Linked DNA regions of Homo sapiens: all the other regions are linked to region 1. Evidence: promoter capture Hi-C in 16 types of primary human blood cells and fetal thymus (Javierre and others, 2016). All regions are on one chromosome and are shown on one strand. The core of a region is centred on a gene start or on the middle of the fragment in contact, and the rest is flanking DNA. Distances in the headings are between cores, read along the strand shown.

Region 1 (2,795 bases), core at 99-2,598:
CATGCCTGTAATCCTAGCACTTTGGGAAGCCAAGGCAGGAAGATCACTTGAGCTCTGAGTTCAAAACCAGCCTGGGCAACATAGTGTGACCTCATCTCTAAAATAATAATAATAATGGTAGCCCTGTGACATGAGTTGCTCAAAACAGTGGTGCCCTGGCTGCTGTAAAAAAGCTCTAGAATAGACCCTACCTGAGGAAAGGAGAGTTGGAAATGTGTTCCTAGGTTTCCTAGAGAAAGCAAGATCTGAACCAACTGTTCGAAAGTGAATTGGAGGAGAATACCAGGCAGAGAAAATATTTGCAAAAGCATAGAGACAAGGCAGCACAAAGTCTTTCAGCATGATTGGGGCTGTGGCTTTCAAGAGAGGGACTGTCAGAAGAGAGACTGTTGAAACTAGGTCCAAATTTTTTGGGCCTGGTACACCATGCTAAGCAGCTTAAATGTACCCCTGTAGAAGATGGGAAAGCTTGATGGGCTTCAAGCAAGTGACACAGCCATAGTTGGATTTTAGGAAGGTAACTGGCAGGGAATGGAAGAAGAATTGGCCTGGAAGAGGTTGAAGACTCTTTTAGAGGTTTCCGAAGTAATTTAAGTGAAAAAATGCTGAGGGCTTGAAATGAGGCAGTGGTAATAAGAATTGGAGATGAAGGGGAGAATTTGAGATATTTAGGAATTTGTAGCACTTCGCATAGCACTGCAATTTACCTGTCTGTCGTTGGGCACAGATGAGCAGTGGCTTTATGGCTAGGCCTTTGTTTTTGTTTTGTTTTGTGTTGTTTTCCATTACTACATGGAGATGCTAAGACTAGGACTTTTGTATTCATTTTTGTTTCCTCAGCATCCACTCAATGACAGGCAGAGTTGCACTTGGTGAAGGCTGACAGAATGAATTAGGAAATTAAATACTAGGGGAAGCAGTTCGGAGGAGACCAAAAGACAAGAATATGCCTAGGACAGTGTTGAGAGAAGACGGGAGCAGGACAGAAGTCCCTGGGCGAGAGTGGAGAAGAATCCCAAAAGCCATTTCCACTTCTTCCATTGGTCCCCAATCCCTCTCCCTCCCAAGTCCTTCAAGCTACAAACCCGCGTCCGATTTTCCCGCCACTGCAGGGGGCTCCTCCTCCCTGGTTCTCAGTGGATGAAAGGCCAACGCTAGGCCACGCCCTCTCCCTGGCTCAGGCTGCGCTCCCCGCCTTCTTTGCTAAGCCACGCCCCTCTCGGAGTTCCTCCAGGATCCCGGCGTCCCAGCCCCGCCCGGTCTTGGCGCGGCCCTCGCCAGGGGGCGCCGCGCAGCCCGCCCGCCGCCCGCCAGTCTAGCACACACCCCCTCCGCCCCGCGCGCCGGCGATTCCGAGCCTACGACGCCTCCGCTAGAGCCCGCGGGGCTGCGCCGACTCCTGCTCTGGAGGGGTTGCGGGTACCTGATGGCCACAGAGGGCTCTAGGAGGCCGAGCGTGTAAGCGGGGTGGGCGCCATGGAGGCAGAGCAGCGGCCGGCGGCGGGGGCCAGCGAAGGGGCGACCCCTGGACTGGAGGCGGTGCCTCCCGTTGCTCCCCCGCCTGCGACCGCGGCCTCAGGTCCGATCCCCAAATCTGGGCCTGAGCCTAAGAGGAGGCACCTTGGGACGCTGCTCCAGCCTACGGTCAACAAGTTCTCCCTTCGGGTGTTCGGCAGCCACAAAGCAGTGGAAATCGAGCAGGAGCGGGTGAAGTCAGCGGGGGCCTGGATCATCCACCCCTACAGCGACTTCCGGTATTGGGGGCTTGGCGGGGAGGGCAGGGTACATCAATCCCACCCTCGCGGGCAGCGACACCGGGACCCGGCCCGCCCCACCCTCCACGGTCACTTCATTTCCAGCCCGGGGTCCCTTGGTGGGGCGGGAGAGTCACTTGCACCAGTCTAGCCTGGGAATTCCTGGGCGGGTATCCCCTGCCGGAGGTCCTCCGTGCCTGGACAGGCTGGGGGCACCAGAAGGGGCAAGCAGACATCAGGGGATCTCCAGAGACCTGGATTTCCTCTTTCAGGAACCCGGGACCCCATCCGGACCAAAGGAACTACCAGAGTTTGGGACCCCTGCCTCCTCCAGTCCTGCTTGCTGGAGATCTAGGAAATTATATTCTAAGTATCGGGGCCAGTCTGAGGGAGAAGCCGAGCTCCGCCATCTCCCATCCCCACACCCGCTCCTTAGCACCTGCCTAGTTCAGCATGACAGACTACCAGGAAAAATAGGGACGCTGAAGGGGGCGGGGGGTCCAGACCTCAGCTCTGGTCGCTGTCCCTAGTGCTGAAGGCGGGGGCGGCGGGGCGGGGCCGAGACTCAGAGTGACTGAGGCGGCAAAGCAGGGGCAGGACCACCACCCAGGTGACTCCCAGAGAAGGAACAGAGGGTGGGGGTGGGGCCATTTCACAGTCTCCGTCAGGGTGTACCTCTACATCAAGGTCGCTAGGGGAAGACAGCAGCCCTGTCCTTGGGGGAAATGAAGGACAGCTCTTGGATGAGGCAGGGATGTGTGCAAAGCACCTAACCTGGGGAACTAAAGAAGCAGAGAGGAAGAGGTGTGAATCTGGAGCCTCGAAATACAGTTGTAGACCCAGACATTATCTTGAATCCACATATATACACACTCCCTCTATGTCTCTCTTCCTCCCATTGTTCCTTTCACTCCTGTCTTTGCTGCCTCGTTCCCACCCAGCCAGTGCGCCTTTTCTAGTCTCCTGTGGATCTCACTCTCTTCCCTCAGTTCACTCGCAGACGGATCCCCAGAAGCCTGGTATCCCTCTGATTGTGCTTCT
Region 2 (2,795 bases), core at 110-2,609, 700 kb after region 1:
ACTCTGGGCTGGGACCTGTCCTTTCTGATAATGGGTACAGTGCGGGGGCCCCAAAGGAGCTGGGAGGTGCTGTCTGCAGGCACCACCTTCCTTTCAGCTCTGACTTATTCACCTGCAAGTCAGCTTCATCATTTCCTGGGGTCTGGGTGTGGAAAGGTCAGGGCACTTGGGAATGGGGCTGGGTACAAAGGCAGGGATAAAGGGTACTTGGAGAGGAGTGGCCAAGAGGTCATGATGGGGGAGGCGTGTGGATAATTATACACCCAGACTCATGAAATGCTAGGTGAAGGGACCCCAAGACGAGCAGATAAGAGAATGAGAGCGCTGGGGGAGGAGGAGGAAGGGCAGGGAACACAATGCATAGTGCCAGGTGTGTCAGCCTAAGGGTTTCAGGTTGGGAGAAGGAAGAGCTAGGAGGCTGGCGGGGCAGATAGGGATGGAGGCCCTATGTTCCAGGCAGAAGGGCTCAGGATGGAGGAAAGGAGCCCAGCTACACAAAGACCTCTGCTCCCTTCACCTAGAGGTGATGGTTTGGGGGAAGTAAGCCGTCCCTCGGCCGTCCCGACCCCAGCCACCCGCCCACCCAGAGGGGAGAACTGAATCACAGCTGGAAAGTCCATTTGCGAGGAGAGGAGGAGCTGACTTTTGTCTTGGAGGGGTGGTGGTGGTGGTGGGAGGAAGCCGGGAAACCACCCCCTCCCGTCCCCTCCGCCGGATGGCGGGGACAAAGGGGGAACGACCAAGCCAGCGATTGGGGAGTGATGGGGGGTCGCCACGCCAAGCCCAAGCCGGTGGGGCCCGGGGTGAGAGGAGGTGCCGGAGCTTCCACCGCCCCCACCCGCGAGACACACACCTCCCTCTTCCCGCTCCGTCCCTTACCGGAGCAACTTTCTTTCAAGCGGCCTAAAGCACTCGGTCCCGCCGGCTTGGAGGCGACCAAGCCCAGGTCCGCTCCGCTCCCTCCCGGGATCCCAGCACCGTCGCGTCTGCCGCTCCCCCCACCCCTACCCACTCGCTCGCAGTCCCCACCCACCCCGTCCCGCCGCTCGCCGATCCACCGCTCCGCCCGATTTTGGCGCCCAGAAAGCAGGCGGGGAGACAGGAGATGCACCGCGGGTGCCGGGGTTCGGGGAGCACCCGAGGACCGCGGCGAAAGGAGAGGGGTTTCCGAGCCCACCTTGCTCGCCAGCTCTCTGCTCCGGTCGATCCGCGCCCGCGTGAGGGATTCGATCCGAGACATAATCGGACGGGGGGACCAGGGAGGACGCGGCGCGGACCCCGGCGTCCTGTATTGTTGGGGGAAGGCGGGGGGAGGGGTTCGGCCCGCACGCGTTGGTCTCGGGGACAGGAAGTCTGACTCCCCTCGCCCGGCACCCAGCACCAGTTCCTCAAACCCGAGTCTCCTCCCCCGCCCAAGCTCAGGAAGGGGGTAGGCGGAGCGGAGGGAGGGCGGGGTGCCCGCGCGCAGGACGGGACGCCAGGGTTTGTGTGGGGGCAGCTCGGAGAGGTACGAGGGTCCTAGGACAGGTTTGAGAGGCCCCTCTGCCTATTTCCCCTCCAGCGCCTGGGGGCGCCCTCTAGCCCCAGAGACCCGCCTCTTAGCTCTTCTTTTCCTAAAACCCAGCCCCGCAGCCCTCGCCGGACCCAGGTTGGCCCTTTCCCCTCTGCCCTCCCCTTCTTCCCTTCTCCCCTCGCCCTCCCTTTTTCCCTCCCCTACTGCGTTACCTCAGTCTTTAAAGACCCGCAGGCAGGAGAATTCCATCCGCCCCCAGCTCTTAGAAAACCCAGGACCAGTTCCTTCCTGGCCTTCGGGGTCCCATCAAAGCAGGCCTGAGCAGACTGACCCCTTTTACGATTGGGGGCAGGGGTGGCCAGAGGGAGAGGAAATCAAAGGAGAACTAAACGCTGGATCTTCAGTACACGGGAAGGGTAGGATTCACTCCCAGAGGTCGAAGAACAGAGAGGAGAGAATTCTCCCACATGCCCCACCCTTCTGGGGCCTTCCTGACCCCACTCTGCCCTCCTCCTAGCTCCGCCTCTGCCAGCTACTTTGGGGGACTAGGTTGGGATTCTCCACTTTTACCGAAGGCCTTCCATGTGTCTAACTGCAGTTCTCTCTGTTGCAAGTTAAGCCGGAACTGAAAGACCAGAAACCAGCCTGCCCTAGTCAAAGAAAGTTAGGGCCCAACCAGCCTCTCCCCAAGAAGCAGGGTAAGGTGGGGCATTCATCTCTCTGGACCCTTTTCCCCAGCCTGAGCCAGCCTTTGGGTGAGTTTCCTGCTATTGGGAAAATTCCTCCTCCAGTCTAACTATGATCACTTACAGTGAAGTTCATTTCTGCCTCTCAGGGTCTCCCATTTCTCTGGAGAAACCAGAAGCACAGAGAGGCCTGGGACAGAGCCTTCGGTTAGCAGGGTCCTGCCTGATTCTGGCCCCAAAGGGCGTGGGAGAAGAAGGGAGGGAGGGGAGACCCAACCCAGATCCAGCAGTTCTCTGCCCTGGCTCAGCAGTGGGGCCAGGCTGCAGGTTTCAAGCCCAACTCAGCACTCTTGTAGGTGCCAATTTTAGCCTCTGCCACTATTTTTGGGCTCCACTACCTCACCACTGGCTGAGCTGGTTGGGCTCCTCACCCCCAGCACTACCCCCACACTGCCCCTCCGGCTTCCCCTCCTTCCTAGCAACTCCTTCACCTCCTTCTTCACCCATTCCCCTGTTTAGAATCCTTAAATAGCAAAGACCAGGAAAAAGGAAGAGGAAATAAACCGTGCCCAGTTCAGGCTGGATGGACATTAGAA
Region 3 (2,795 bases), core at 75-2,574, 660 kb after region 1:
TTTCTCCTATGTGTTCACAAGCCCACTGCTGATTTATTGTCGCAAAGGGCCCCTCTCTTCCCTCAGCACTCCAAAGGAACTGAACATCGAACGTTATCTTAATTAGCTGGCAGAGGGCAAGAAGGGGCTGAATATATTGGAATCCTTGAGAAAGCCTTACTCTTTTACCTATCCACCTCCTGCCTTCTCTTTGTCCCCACCTCAGCTCCTTCTGCAGTAGGTAGAGATGTAGGCAATGAAAGGGGAGGGCCCAATGAAGCATTTTTTTTTTCCAGTTATGATTGAGATCATGGGGAGACAGGATGAGGTGTGGTGAGGGCGTATCTCAGGATCCTTAGCTCTGACATGGGGTTTGCAGGAGAGAGTAGGGGGACCGCTGAGCTCTGTCCACAGACTAGAGCAGGAAAGGGGGGAAAGGCGGCGATAGAGGTTAGCAGGAATGTTTAATTATCAGGAGCAGGAACAGAACTGAGGGCATGCCCAGGTCCACACAGGCCCTCATAGGCCCAGTGTTCCCAGTGGGGAGGAAACAGGAAGCTGTGACTTCCTCTCTCTTTTCCCTCCCTGCTCTTAGCCTCAAGGTCACTGCTGCTGAGATGAATTCCAACCTGTTTTAGTTGGCACTGTTCCCTGGGCATGGTAATAGCCTCTCAGTACCCTTCTGCCACAAACACCCCAAACTTCTCCTTTGAAATAATATTCATACAAATTGCTATTTCACATGTGTTCTCTCATTGCATCATGCCACTCCTGTGAAGCAGACTTACCTGAAAATTTTAAGCAAGAAAACAGGCTTAGGGGAGTAAAGTAACTCTCCCAGTCACACGGCTAGTGAGCAGCAGGTCTGGGACTCCGCAGCCTCCGCTCTTTCCTCTCTTGGACACCCATGCTGATTCCCTGCCTCTATGCCACCTCCCAGGCCCCTTGCTTTGGGCCCCAAGGGAACACTTTCTGCAGAGGAGGGAGGCCTCTGCACTGTTAGGAACAGAGGCAGCTCTAGTTTGGTTCCTGTCATCTCTGGGACAGGGAACCTCCAGCTCTCTCCCTGGGGTGGAGGCTTGGGGCTGCCCTCCATAGCGGGGTAACTCTCCCTTCTCCCCTCCCTCTCTGCCATTTAGAGCCCCTCTTACAGGCGGGCGCATGCACATATACCCTGGCATTCAGGCTGTGCCTCGCCCTGCCCCACCTACCACCAATCTTGACCAACAGGAAGGTGGTGGGTTGTCCTTTCCACACCCCTCCCTCTGAGGTGTGGGCGTGGGCCAGGGCTCACCAGAGGCCCCAGAGAAGCACTTAATTCTACAGCCTCCTTCCTAGAGCCTTCAGTGGCCTCTGCCAGTCTGGCAGACACTTGCAGACCTCTCTTCTCAGCACCACCAATCTCTGATGCCCTGCGATGCCCACACTCAATACTTCTGCCTCTCCACCCACATTCTTCTGGGCCAATGCCTCCGGAGGCAGTGTGCTGAGTGCTGATGATGCTCCGATGCCTGTCAAATTCCTAGCCCTGAGGCTCATGGTTGCCCTGGCCTATGGGCTTGTGGGGGCCATTGGCTTGCTGGGAAATTTGGCGGTGCTGTGGGTACTGAGTAACTGTGCCCGGAGAGCCCCTGGCCCACCTTCAGACACCTTCGTCTTCAACCTGGCTCTGGCGGACCTGGGACTGGCACTCACTCTCCCCTTTTGGGCAGCCGAGTCGGCACTGGACTTTCACTGGCCCTTCGGAGGTGCCCTCTGCAAGATGGTTCTGACGGCCACTGTCCTCAACGTCTATGCCAGCATCTTCCTCATCACAGCGCTGAGCGTTGCTCGCTACTGGGTGGTGGCCATGGCTGCGGGGCCAGGCACCCACCTCTCACTCTTCTGGGCCCGAATAGCCACCCTGGCAGTGTGGGCGGCGGCTGCCCTGGTGACGGTGCCCACAGCTGTCTTCGGGGTGGAGGGTGAGGTGTGTGGTGTGCGCCTTTGCCTGCTGCGTTTCCCCAGCAGGTACTGGCTGGGGGCCTACCAGCTGCAGAGGGTGGTGCTGGCTTTCATGGTGCCCTTGGGCGTCATCACCACCAGCTACCTGCTGCTGCTGGCCTTCCTGCAGCGGCGGCAACGGCGGCGGCAGGACAGCAGGGTCGTGGCCCGCTCTGTCCGCATCCTGGTGGCTTCCTTCTTCCTCTGCTGGTTTCCCAACCATGTGGTCACTCTCTGGGGTGTCCTGGTGAAGTTTGACCTGGTGCCCTGGAACAGTACTTTCTATACTATCCAGACGTATGTCTTCCCTGTCACTACTTGCTTGGCACACAGCAATAGCTGCCTCAACCCTGTGCTGTACTGTCTCCTGAGGCGGGAGCCCCGGCAGGCTCTGGCAGGCACCTTCAGGGATCTGCGGTTGAGGCTGTGGCCCCAGGGCGGAGGCTGGGTGCAACAGGTGGCCCTAAAGCAGGTAGGCAGGCGGTGGGTCGCAAGCAACCCCCGGGAGAGCCGCCCTTCTACCCTGCTCACCAACCTGGACAGAGGGACACCCGGGTGAAGGGCGCAAGCTGAACACACTCCTCTTTCTGAGATCCACCAAGTGTAGGATCCTTGAGTCCTGGGGAGAAGCTGCCCTCTCTGCCAGGCTGCAGTGCCCTCAGGGAAAAGTCTGATCTTTGATCCCCAACTCTGGGTGTGGTGAATGGGGGAGGCGGGGGCTCAGATCAGAGCTGGATGTGACAAAGCTTAAGTCTTTATTTGGAGATGGGAAAGAAGAGGATCTGAGAATAAACCTCTGGATTATCCACAAATTGTCTTGACCTTTTATCCCA
Region 4 (2,795 bases), core at 82-2,581, 630 kb after region 1:
GATGTCCAGGCTTGGCATGTCTGGGTTGTAAGAGTTCAGCAGCCTGGCTCTACTTGTTTCTCTGCTTCCTTTTGTGGAAGTTCAAACCAGCTGACTCACAGTTACAGAGCGAGTCTCAAGTCATACCCTTAGAGAAGTGACAGCAAGAAAAGGCTTCGTTAAGTGGCCTGTATACAACCATAAAAAAATACAACAAAGAGAGTTGTCCCATTAATGTTCAGTAAGAGACAAAGACTAAAGATGGCTTATGACATAAAGTCTGAAAAAAAAAGAAATATTCAGTTGCTTACCAACTGCTGATACCCTTGTTTCTAAATAAATCTGAATTAGACTCCAAAAAAGCCTCAAAATATAAATAGTTAGAAACTACTGATATTCATTAAGATATTTTTATGGGGTATATTTGGAAACATAAGTGATGATCTGGCTTACCAATGGTGGGATCATGATCTTCTGGGAATCGGTGGCTGATGAACTGCATGGTCATGGCTTCAAAAGAAGAAATAAAAGTCAAATCCTCACAAAGGTGACCCACAGAGAGAATTTTAAGTATTAACATTGCAAGATAGCAAGTATCCCATCTGGTCATTTAAGTACTTTTCATCCATGCTTCCTGTCAAATGGAAAATGTTACCTACCACTCTTCCCTACACCACCAGCACCCAGCATCACTAGTTTGTACTCCCGTGAGAGCCCAGCGGGGCTGCTACAGCAGCTACCAACTGGGCGAGTTCCAGAATCCATTGTCCTCTTGGGGCCTTCCTCGGTTGCCCCGAGGAAAAGCCACCTAGAAAAGGAGGAGGAAATGCTTAATCCAGGATGGAGACACCACGGCGACAGCCCTCAAGCCAGTGCCTTACCTTTCCATACATATTCTGGCCTGTCCCTCTTACTCTGGCCTGTCCCTCTTGCTCACCACTGCACCCTTTCGGGTGGCCCTAAGAAACCCCCCCATCTTCACCCTCCCTCCTAGACAGTTCAGTCACATGACACATCACAGGTTTTACTTTTTCCAAAGAGAAAAATAAAAAGATACAAATAAATTTACGTCTCGGCACAGTAGGGACAAGGAGAAAGTTTTGGGAAGAAAGGGATGCGGCCCCTTAGGCCGCAGGGGTTCTCTCACGTCTGCGGTACCCAGAGGTTCCGCCCCCTCCCCATTCTCCTCCGAACCCCCTCCCCACCCCCAGCTGCTGCTCCGCCGCCAGACTCCCCACCCCTCTACCTCACAAGCCGACGCCCTGCTGCTCCTACTGGTCAGTGGGGACTGGAACACCACAGCCGGTCGGGTCACGCACTTCGTCTTCCTTCACTCGCGGAGGCTCCGGCACTGACCTGTGACCCCTCCCGCAACCGAGTAAGATGGCGCCACCGGCGCCCGAGTCGCGGAAGGAGGGGCGGGGCCACTCAGTGACGCCCACAGCCTGCCCCGCCCTCTTCCCGCCCCTCCCAGGTCCCTAAAACCCAGTTCCGGGACCCACCGCTGAAGGTCCTCTGGTCACCTACCCAACCTAGGGTGTATGCACTCACAGACAAGGGTATTTAATCACGAGTAGAAAGTAAATTATTTACACAAAAGGGAAGGGAGTACGTGATAAGAGACATGCAGGGACACTTAAATTAACAACTTACCGAGGGTTGTTTGCTGCTTGTGGGAAAAAAAAAAACCCAAAACTAATTTGACCCAATGTAATGAGAGGAAGGGAGGACAGGGGCACCCCCCAAATCCTCCTAAAACACAGGATTTCAGTCAAGTCTACCGGGGATGACTACTCATAGGAGAAAAATGACTTTCCTAAAGGAGCGGCCACAATGACTTTTGCTATTGAAACCTAAATTCATTCTCAGAAACCAGATGTTCACAACACTCCCTAATCAGAGTTCTGTATGTATTTTAAACACGTATAAGACACACAAAAACTTGTTTTAAATAAATGTACCACACTCTGGCAGGAAAGAGAGCTCTGAGTTAACAGAGGCCTTGAGTTAAATACAGAACTGAAGCGCAGCCACTATAACCATATTCCCCTCTATTTACGTAGCACAGGTGCTAGAAGAAACTGACACGAAAATTGTTCTCATGCAGCTCTGCCTACCACTGTTCTTTTTAAATGTCTTTCTGGGCCGGGCGGGCGCGGTGGCTCACACCTGTAATCCCAGCACTCTGGGAGGCCGAGGCAGGTGAGTCATGAGGTCAAGAAATAAGAGACCATCCTGGCCAACATGTAAAACCGTCTCTACTAAAAATACAAAAGAATTAGCTGGGTGTGGTGGCATGCGCCTATAAGTCCCAGCTACTCGGGAGGCTGAGGCAGGAGAATCACTTGAACCTGGGAGGTGGAGGTTGCAGTTAGCTGGCTGAGAGGGTGCCACTGCACTCCAGCCTGGCAACAGAGCAAAACTCCGTCTCAAAATTTAAGTCTTTCTGGCCAGGAGTGCTGGCTCACGCCTGTAATCCCAGGACTTTGGGAGGCTGAAGTGGGCTGATCACTTGAGGATCAGGAGTTCAAGACCAGCCTGGCCAAAATGGTGACTCCCTGTCTCTACTAAAAATATAAAAATTAGTTGGGCATGGTGGTAGGTGCCTATAATCCCAGCTACTCAGGAGGCTGAGGCTGGAGAACCACTTGAACCCAGGAGGTTGCGGTGAGCCAGGATTGCACCATTCCACTCCAGCCTGGGTGACAGAGCGAGACTCCATCTCAAAAAAAAATAAAATGTCTTTCCAAGAATAACATATTTCCTTTAAAACCCGCTTCATTCATGAAGTCCTTTTAATACGCTGTTAAATAAAG
Region 5 (2,795 bases), core at 1-2,500, 580 kb after region 1:
AGAGGGAGACTCTGTCAAAAAAAAAAAAAAAAAAAAAAAAAAAAGGCATCTTATTACCCAGGAAAACTTTACTGTCATAAATAGATCCAATAATAGAATAAGCCGCCTTGTGTTAGATCACTGGCAATGTTCAAGCGAAGCCTGAATGTCCACTTATCAGAGTACTAGATGAAAGCCTGAACTAGAGAACTGAAAAATAAAAGTTATTTGTAACTCTAAGCGTCTAAGGTTAGATTTCTCTTTCTTCTTTTCTTTCTTTCTCTCTCTCTCTCTTTCTTTCCAGAGACAAGGTCTCGCTCTGTTGCCCAGACCGGAGTGCAGTGGCAAGATCCTAGTTCACTGCAGCCTCAGACTCCTGGGCTCCAGTGACCCTCTGGCCTCGGCCTCCCGAGTAGCTAGGACTACAAGGCACTTGCCACCACCCTCAACGACTTTTTTTCTTTTTTTTTTTTTGTAGAGACGGGGTCTCGATTTGTTACCCAGGCTGGTCTCAAACTCCTGGCCTCAAGCGATCCTCCCGCCCCAGCCTCCCAAAGTGCTAGGATTAGAGGCGTGAGCCACCGCGCCCGACCTACAGTTAGTTTTAAACCTCCCTTCTGTTTCTCCAAGACATTAGGGGAGATTCTCCATCCCCTCAATCAACTGATGTAATTAAAACTCAGTAACTAAAGCTCAATAAAACATGAAGATTTCGTTGATTCCTGTGAGAGATGGTGGTGACCTTATAAGAAATAGAATGGGAGTAGCCAGGGCAGCTCTTTTATTTCACAGATAATTACTGAGATCAAAAAAAGGGGAAAAAAAGAAAAAGAAAGAAAGAAAAAGAAGGAAAGAAAGACAGCTACTTCAGCTCCAGGCACCTCAAACACAGCAGTAGCTCGACAGAATCCACTTTTTTGGGAACCCAAGTCGGACCAGCAGGGTGAATGAATGCCAATGTGGAGGCAGCCCCGGCACGGCCCTCTCCTAGGAAAACATTTTCAAAAGGGGTCCTAACCGCGCTTCCACCTCGGTGCCCAGGGCTGGCTCCAGTCCCCATTCCCAACTAGACACTGGACTTCACGCCCTTAACTTCCGCCACGCACCCAGCGCCCACCCTCAGACCCGACCTTCTCAACCTGGACATCGTTCGTCCAGGTGTCCCAGCTCCCACCTGCCTCTTCCCACCCCACCACACACAAACCTGTACCCTCACCAGCCGGCCTGATTCCACGGAAACGGCTTTGGCACCACCGGAAGTCAGCCAACAACAGCGAATTGCGTGCGCGTCCCCGAGCCTCGGAGCGCCGCGCCGCAGTGCATCAAGGAGCATGCGCCTAACACTATGCGCCATCCCATTTTAGGGCAGAGTGAAGCCACAACGTTAGTGCGTCAGTTATTGGCAAAAAAATTTAAAGGCACTACTTAGCTTTCTCTGCCCATGGAGTTATCCTACTCAAAACTGAGGTTAAGATTCAGTGGTTTAGATTAACAGCTAATTTGGGGGCCAGGCGCGGTGGCTCACGCCTGTAATCCCGGCACCTTGGGAGACGGAGGCGGGCGGATTACCTGAGGTCGGGAGTTCGAGATCACCCTGGCTAACATGGTGAAACCCCGTCTCTACTAAATATACAAAATTAGCTGGGCGTGGTGGCGCACGCCTGTAATCCCAGCTACTCCGGAGGCTGAGGCAGGAGAATCGCTTGAACCCGGGAGACGGAGGTGGCAGTGAGCCGGCATCGTGCCACTGCACTCCAACCTGAGCGACAGTGAGACTCTGTATCAAAAAAAAAAAAAGATTAACAACTAATTTTTCTCACTACGAGTCACCTGGAACACAGGACCAAGGGACTGAAGAAGTCATAAAATGCCAGAAAAAGAAGTCTCTAAATTACAAATAGTGCAGGCTCCTGATTAAAACTAAGGCACTCTTGGACTCAGGCTATAGTAATTATTCATATATGTACAATATTCTGCATTTTACAAAATGCTCTCACATTTTCTTAGGTGACTTGGTCTCCACAATAGACTGTAAGATTATTATATCATATTCCAGTTTGCACAGGACAAAGTTCTGGCTCATCTGAGTAGGTGATTTCACAACGGTACACAGACAGCTATCAAGGAGAATCAGGTATTAAGTCTCCTAACTCTAGCTAATAATGCATTGACCCAGTGTCCAGGAGGCTGCCTGGGGTGTAACAGATGTTCAATAATTCAATACGTGCTTTTTGAATGAGCGAATGAATGAATGACTTCTAAAATGATGTTATTTCCACTTTTCTAGAAAAACAATGTCTGGAATCCACGGAGATTAAAAAAATAATAAAAAACAGAATGTCAAAAGGTGGAAAAATACTTTCAACCCCCTCATTTTACAGGTAAACCACCAACACAAATTTATACATTTGAACTAATCCTATCTGTAAACAGAATCCAACGGATGAAATTATCCACAGCCAAAATGAAGGTTGAAATTTATGCAAACATGGCAGTAGTCTGACTAACCTGAATCACACCAACTCTCCCAAATACCAAGGAAGACTCCAGAAGCTCGGAGTTTCATGTGTGTTGTTCTTTGACCTACAGAATACACAGATCTTTCGGTTTGGCCTCTCTCATACGAAACCCTAAGCACTTGAGGTTCATGAAAAAAATTCAACACTGATTAACTTTGGCACTTTTCATTAGTTGTTTTTTTTTTTTTTTTTAAACAGCTTTGCATACCACAATATCCATCTGTTTTACGTGTACAACCAAATTTTTTTTTTTTTTTTTTTTTCAGACGGAGTCTTGTTCTGTTGCCCAGGCTGGAG

What was found. The method cuts DNA at HindIII sites, captures the fragments that hold promoters and counts their contacts. A CHiCAGO score of 5 or more calls a contact.
Region 2: a contact is called between the fragment with the promoter of ARHGEF2 here and the fragment with the promoter of HCN3 in region 1, in 4 of 17 cell types (neutrophils, fetal thymus, naive CD8 T cells and 1 more). The highest score is 7.3, in neutrophils.
Region 3: the fragment with the promoter of RXFP4 here is called in contact with the fragment with the promoter of HCN3 in region 1 in 11 of 17 cell types (total B cells, fetal thymus, non-activated CD4 T cells and 8 more); the score reaches 14.0 in total B cells.
Region 4: the fragment with the promoter of RIT1 here is called in contact with the fragment with the promoter of HCN3 in region 1 in 5 of 17 cell types (monocytes, fetal thymus, activated CD4 T cells and 2 more); the score reaches 8.1 in monocytes.
Region 5: a contact is called between the fragment with the promoter of GON4L here and the fragment with the promoter of HCN3 in region 1, in 11 of 17 cell types (fetal thymus, non-activated CD4 T cells, naive CD8 T cells and 8 more). The highest score is 17.3, in fetal thymus.

The regions. Positions count from the first base shown.
Region 1 is chr1:155,276,115-155,278,909 of GRCh38, forward strand. It overlaps HCN3 (hyperpolarization activated cyclic nucleotide gated potassium channel 3), which reads left to right and starts at 1,349. Exons shown (of 8, transcript NM_020897.3): 1 at 1,349-1,754. The coding sequence starts at 1,477. The HindIII fragment of the contact is 9,883 bases long and covers 467-2,795 here.
Region 2 is chr1:155,977,188-155,979,982 of GRCh38, forward strand. ARHGEF2 (Rho/Rac guanine nucleotide exchange factor 2) reads right to left here and starts at 1,360. Exons shown (of 22, transcript NM_001162383.2): 1 at 1,178-1,360. The coding sequence starts at 1,240. ARHGEF2-AS2 (ARHGEF2 antisense RNA 2) reads left to right here and starts at 1,452. Exons shown (of 3, transcript NR_183460.1): 1 at 1,452-1,507; 2 at 2,133-2,268. RefSeq lists silencers at 1,355-1,514, 1,575-1,624 and enhancers at 1,965-2,034, 2,496-2,795, 2,505-2,554. The HindIII fragment of the contact is 25,844 bases long and covers 1-2,795 here.
Region 3 is chr1:155,940,314-155,943,108 of GRCh38, forward strand. It overlaps RXFP4 (relaxin family peptide/INSL5 receptor 4), which reads left to right and starts at 1,325. Exons shown (of 1, transcript NM_181885.3): 1 at 1,325-2,774. The coding sequence starts at 1,397. The coding sequence ends at 2,521. RefSeq lists a silencer at 765-1,059 and an enhancer at 1,379-1,878. The HindIII fragment of the contact is 9,136 bases long and covers 1-2,706 here.
Region 4 is chr1:155,910,018-155,912,812 of GRCh38, forward strand. RIT1 (Ras like without CAAX 1) reads right to left here and starts at 1,332. Exons shown (of 6, transcript NM_006912.6): 1 at 1,226-1,332; 2 at 639-787; 3 at 433-489. The coding sequence starts at 744. The HindIII fragment of the contact is 5,298 bases long and covers 1-2,795 here.
Region 5 is chr1:155,855,964-155,858,758 of GRCh38, forward strand. GON4L (gon-4 like) reads right to left here and starts at 1,251. Exons shown (of 32, transcript NM_001282860.2): 1 at 1,184-1,251. RefSeq lists enhancers at 1,131-1,330, 1,617-2,204. The HindIII fragment of the contact is 10,340 bases long and covers 1-2,795 here.